Regions from separate parts of the Homo sapiens genome. Here region 1 is linked to region 2. The links are contacts of gene promoters, found by promoter capture Hi-C in blood cells and fetal thymus (Javierre and others, 2016). All regions are on one chromosome and are shown on one strand. Each heading gives the region's core, a stretch centred on a gene start or on the middle of the fragment in contact. The rest is flanking DNA. Distances are from core to core; before and after follow the strand shown. Region 1 overlaps SLC7A8 (solute carrier family 7 member 8). Region 2 holds the start of MDP1 (magnesium dependent phosphatase 1).

Region 1 (2,700 bases), core at 201-2,700, 1.1 Mb after region 2:
AAAAAAAAAAAAGAAAGAAACTTAAGTAGCTCCTTGGAGGCACTATGATTTTCACTGGCAGGGTTCTTGACATTACGCAAAGCACTTTCACCTATATTATCTGATTTGGGCCTAATGACAAGTCCATGAGGTAAGCTGGGCCAGTGTTAACATTTTCCCAGAACAGATAAGGAAACAGAGAGCCAGGCAAATGACTTGCCCAGGGAGGCAGGCCACGTGGAGTGCAAGGGCTCCTGATTTCTTGTCTGTCCAGTGCACTGCACTGTGCTGGCTACTCCCAGCTGCTCCTAGGAAGATTACTCTGGCTTCTTGGCAGTAGGTCCACATCTACTTCTACCTCAACTTGTCAAGTCACACTCTTTTAACTCTCTTGGAGAAGGGTTTGTCCATGATCCCTGCCCTTGATGAGTTTTCTAACTAGGAGAAAAGCCATATAGACAGATACTGTGGTTAGGATTCAATTGCAGTAAAAATTCAGAGAAGGGAGCTAGGCATGGTGGTGTACACCTGTAGTTCCAGCTACCTGGGAGGCTGAGGTAGGAGGGTCGATTGACCCTGGGAGTTCTGGGCCACAGTGAGCTATGATTACACCTATGAATAGCCACTGCACTCCAGCCTGGGCAACATAGTGAGATCCTGTCTCTAAAAAAAAAAAAGAAATTAAAAACAACAATAACAATAAAATTCAGAGAAGGGGAAAAGATCTCTGTGGGCTGGAATAGGTTAGAGAGGCTTCCTAGAGAAGTTCTGCAGAGCCGTATTTCTAGGAAGTCTCAAAGCTTTATCTCTGATATTAGTCATCTCAATGGATTGGGGTATTTTACATCTTTAATCAAAAACTAATTTCTAAAGTAAATACTTAGATATGTTTCAGGGGCTCCACCTCTAGGGTTCACTGGGTCCCTGCCTTCCCATAGCTTCTAACACACATACACTTAGCTGAGGGCAGTGATCATCCTGGCCATATGCTTTCCCAGGTCCTGACACTTTTCCTTCTGTCCTGTTACGGGATGGGGGAGGAAGAGATCACTCACCCACCTCAGTAGCCTCTTACAGGGCAGGCAGCTGGGACCCAAGAGGCGGTCTCCTTGGCAAGTGAGCCCTCTTTGGCAGTGCTGGTCAACCCTGGGACAGACCTCCACCACCCAGGCCATTTGCAATATGGGGCCAAGACATTTGTTTGGGGGTGTATTCCTTGTGTTTGATCAGGCCTGCTCACAGATCTGGAGGCAGAGGAATGCAGGCTCCAAAACCAGGCTGCCTGCGCCTGCATCTCCAGTCCACCATTTCTAACTGCAGTGGTGAGTGCTGGGCAAAATCACTCGTCCACCCTACTGTGAGATGGGGAGTGTAATCCTAGCTGCCTCAAGAGGTCGTGGTCACAAGGACTGCAAGAGAGAAGGAAGGGGACACCCTCAGCACAGTGTTAGACACCCAGCACCCCAGTCATATCAGTCACTGGGGGTGGGCAAGATGCTGGGGCCACTTTATCCTTGCATCCTAGCTGGATCCAGAGTTGAGATGGGGAGCGGGGAAGAGCGAGGGCGTGGGAATGCAGGAAGAGTGCTGTTTCTGCCATCAGATCAGCTAATGGGAGGGTGGGAGGCAAGGCCACAGAAGTGCTAGCTACTGCTGTTTTGGTGTTTCTTTGCACACAGACAGCTTCCTTTTTCCTGCTGATGCTGCTAAAGTGTCTCAGACAAGAGGCCACCCTTACCCTTCTACTAGAAATCAAGAACCCCCGAGGCTGTTCAGTTTGCACCCTAGGAGAGGAGCCAGGCCACAGGTTGAAGAAGTTCCCAGGCAGCCAGACCCCATGGCTTTCTTTGCATTCCCCAAATCTGCCAAGGGTTTGACCTCTTGCACAAAGACCCTCCAAAGTAGTGTAGCCTTTTTGGCGTCCCCTCGGACCAGAAAGGTCCAAACTCTCCTAGGAGATAAGAACGCCACCTGCCTGTAGCCCTGCTCCAGAATGACATGTTGCACAGTCCTCTCCACAGCCTTCCCCTCACCTAGACACTGCAAGGACCAAGCCAAGGAGAAATTTAGAAACTGGCTGATGACAAAAATGACAAGACCCCCCTCCTCTATTCCTGTAGTCAAAGATTCAATAAAGCTTATCTAAGTTTGGCCTCTGCCTTCTCAGCAGAACTGCAAGGAAATTATCTCCAACTTAACAGTAGCCAATCTTGTCCTCTAAAGACAGGAATTTTCAATGTCCTTGAAATATGGGTTCAAATATTTGTCTACCTTCATAAGCAGAAAAATCTTAAATCCTTCTTATTCCCAAGCGTAGTCTTCCTTATTTCCTTTAGGGGAAATGGAAACCAGCTCCACACCTGTCCCGCTGCAGTGTCCCTTTCCTCCTAGCTGTGAAGGCCATGTGGAGCTGCCATCCCTCTGCCCGGCAGGGTGCACACGTACATGCATTAGCTATAACAAACTTCCTCTCTCCCTTTCCTTATACCTGACACTCCCAGCTGCTTTGAGTCTGTGTACAGAGGTTCTGTTTTCCGGTTTGTTGAATACTTTTTTTTTTTAATCCACTTCTATAGGCCCCTCAAATCCTCTCTTCTTTTTTTGAATTTTATGGCAGGCCATACCAGATAAGCATCCAATCCTCTCATACGGTATTCAGTAAAACAAGAACCAAGCTGTCAGGAAGGCTTGGTAGATGCTTTTTTTTTTTTTTTTTTTAGA
Region 2 (2,700 bases), core at 195-2,694:
GAGACCAGCCTGGCCAACATGGTGAAACCCCATCTTTACTAAAAATACAAAAATTAGCTGGGCGTGGTGGTGGGCGCTTGTAATCCCAGCTACTCAGGAGGCTGAAGCAGGAGAATTGCTTGAACCCAGGAGGTGGAAGTTGCAGTGAGCTGAGATCGTGCCACTGTACTCCAGCCTAGATGACAGAGCGAGACTCTGTCAAAAACAACAACAACAACAACAACAACAACAACAAAAAACTCCTAAGTCTTCTTTTTCTTTTTTTTCTGGCTTCCTTTTCCTGCAGGAATGATGAGAAGACAGCAGCTGATTACAAGATTTTAGGTGGTTCAGTCCTTCACCTGGTGTTGGCTCTGAGAGGAGGAGGTGGTCTTAGGCAGTGATGGACCCTCCATTTTACCTCTTTACCCTGTCGCTCATAATGAGGCATCATATATCCTCTCACTCTCTGGGACACCATAGCCACTGCCCCCTCCCCTGGATGCCCAGTAATGTATGTCTACTGGTGGGAGACTGTGAGGATCCCAGGATTCAGTATTCCTGGCCCAGAGGGCCCTTGCTGGCTACTGGGTGTTAGTTTGCAGTCCTGTGTGCTTCCCTCTCTTATGACTGTGTCCCTGGTTGTCAATAAAATATTTCCTGGCCTCCTGGAATCTTTCTTCTGTTGCACAAGTTGACTGAAATAAAAATGGACCTAATGCTCACTCAGTTATAGCAGGCTGAAGGAATCGGACAGTGGAAGGAATGGTGCTCTTACGGGGATTATCAGACTCTAGGAAAACCTACTTAGTGGTGTGTTGGAACCAGTTCCTAGTGGCTAATGAGAGCCAATTATTGGCACCTTTTTCCAACTCTATTAAGTGACTTCATGTTGGTAGCTTGAAATTGGCCATGGTAGGATTATTTACAGAAACTAGCAAACACTACAGATCAGTTCCTCCCCACAAACTGGTTGTTATACATCTACCAGTGTAGTGCTGACATGGATGGTGAAACCTTCGGAGAGTGAATTCTCTCTTGACTGTGGCTGTACTGGACATTTAGGCCTGGTTGGAGAACGCCTTCAAGGGTTTGGCTGACACTGTACTCTATGGCTGGAATATTACTGAGGACTTTGGGTTCTACACTGTCAGGAGGTTGATAATGCAGAAAGATTGAGTGACAAGCTGTGATGTATCACTTGGGTCTCAAGAAGAGGCAGGTGCTAGAAGAAAAGGCTTTCCTTCTTCCCTGGCTTCTTAGTATAATAGAATCGGGCAAGGCTGGGTGGAGTGGAGAAGTAGGGAGGATGCCCGTGGCCAATGCCTTAGAAAGACTTGACTGCTGTGGTTGCATGTGTGGTCGTGTTGGTACCTCGCTGCAATCCTCTTCCCCGCCCAGCATCAGATGGCACTCTTGCGCCATCTCCAGGCTGATGACGCCCCGAGTGGCGACGCTCTAGTCGCCATTTGTCTATGGCAGGCAGGGTGGCTGCCTTAGCTGCCGGAGGTTCCGCACTCTCTAAGGCCCCGGGTGAAGCCCCACCTCTGCTGCGCGCAGCCTGCGGTGCGGGTCATGGCGCGGCTACCGAAGCTGGCAGTCTTTGATTTGGGTGAGGGACGGGAAGGGGAGAATTTCGTAAGGTGCTCTCCTTTTCCACATCCCTAACAGCAGCTCCCGAATCCCTGCATCTCCCGCCCCAGGCTGAACCTTCCCTCTCCTTCCTCTCGCAGATTACACTCTCTGGCCTTTCTGGGTCGACACGCACGTAGACCCTCCGTTCCATAAGAGCAGGTGAGGTAGGGACAGGGAAGACTGGGGGCGAGATAGGACCCAGCCAGGGCTGAGCGCACTCTTGCCCTCTCCAGTGATGGAACTGTACGAGATAGGCGGGGCCAAGACGTCCGACTGTACCCAGAGGTGCCTGAGGTCCTAAAACGATTGCAGAGCCTTGGGGTGCCCGGTGCGGCTGCTTCAAGGTAAGAAGAGCGACTGACAACTGACAGTGTAATGCTGAAGGGTGCATGCAAGAGACAGTGAAACCCCTGGTCTACAAAAATAGGGGCGGTGCAAGTTTCCAAGTATTTACATATTTTTTCCCTTGAACGCTCTCCTGTGCCTTTTAACTATTAAAAAGTGGGGCCAGCAGGCGGGCGCGGTGGCTCACGTCTGTAATCCCAGCACTTTGGGAGGCCGAGGCGGGTGGATCACGAGATCGGGAGTTCAAGACCAGCCTGATCAACATGGTGAAACCCCGTCTCTACTAAAAATACAAAAATTAGCAGGGCGTGGTGGCACGCACCTGTAATCCTAGCTACTCGGGAGGCTGAGGCAGGAGAATCGCTTGAACCCGGGAGGCGGAGGTTGCAGTGAGCTGAGATGGAGCCACTGCACTTCAGCCTGGGTGACAGAGTGAGACAATGTCTCAAAAAAAAAAAAAAAAAAAAAAGTGGGGCCAGACACAGTGACTCACACCTGTAATCTTAGCATTTTGGGAGGCCTAGGTGGGAGGATCACTTGAGCCCAGGAATTTGAGACCAGCCTAGGCAATAGAGGGAGACCCTATCTCTACCAAAAAAAAAAAAAAAATTGTAGTGGCGTGCACCTGTAGTCCCAGCTACTTGGGAGGCTGAGGTGGGAGGATCACTTGAGCCCAGGAGGTCGTGACCACAGTGAGCCGTGATTGGGTCGCTGCACTCCAGTCTGGGCAACAGAGCTAGA

What was found. The method cuts DNA at HindIII sites, captures the fragments that hold promoters and counts their contacts. A CHiCAGO score of 5 or more calls a contact.
Region 1: a contact is called between a fragment that was not itself captured here and the fragment with the promoter of MDP1 in region 2, in 1 of 17 cell types (M0 macrophages). The highest score is 5.5, in M0 macrophages.

What each region holds. Positions count from the first base shown.
Region 1 is chr14:23,161,923-23,164,622 of GRCh38, reverse strand. All of the region lies in intron 3 of SLC7A8 (solute carrier family 7 member 8), which reads left to right. Among named protein-coding and RNA genes, the nearest start is that of SLC7A8, 20 kb to the left of the region's middle. The HindIII fragment of the contact is 1,337 bases long and covers 782-2,118 here.
Region 2 is chr14:24,214,810-24,217,509 of GRCh38, reverse strand. It overlaps MDP1 (magnesium dependent phosphatase 1), which reads left to right and starts at 1,444. Exons shown (of 6, transcript NM_138476.4): 1 at 1,444-1,591; 2 at 1,713-1,773; 3 at 1,848-1,958. The coding sequence starts at 1,555. NEDD8-MDP1 (NEDD8-MDP1 readthrough) reads left to right here. Exons shown (of 7, transcript NM_001199823.3): 4 at 1,848-1,958. NEDD8 (NEDD8 ubiquitin like modifier) reads left to right here. Exons shown (of 4, transcript NM_006156.3): 4 at 287-653. The coding sequence ends at 383. RefSeq lists enhancers at 1,398-1,567, 1,980-2,700. The HindIII fragment of the contact is 6,893 bases long and covers 1-2,700 here.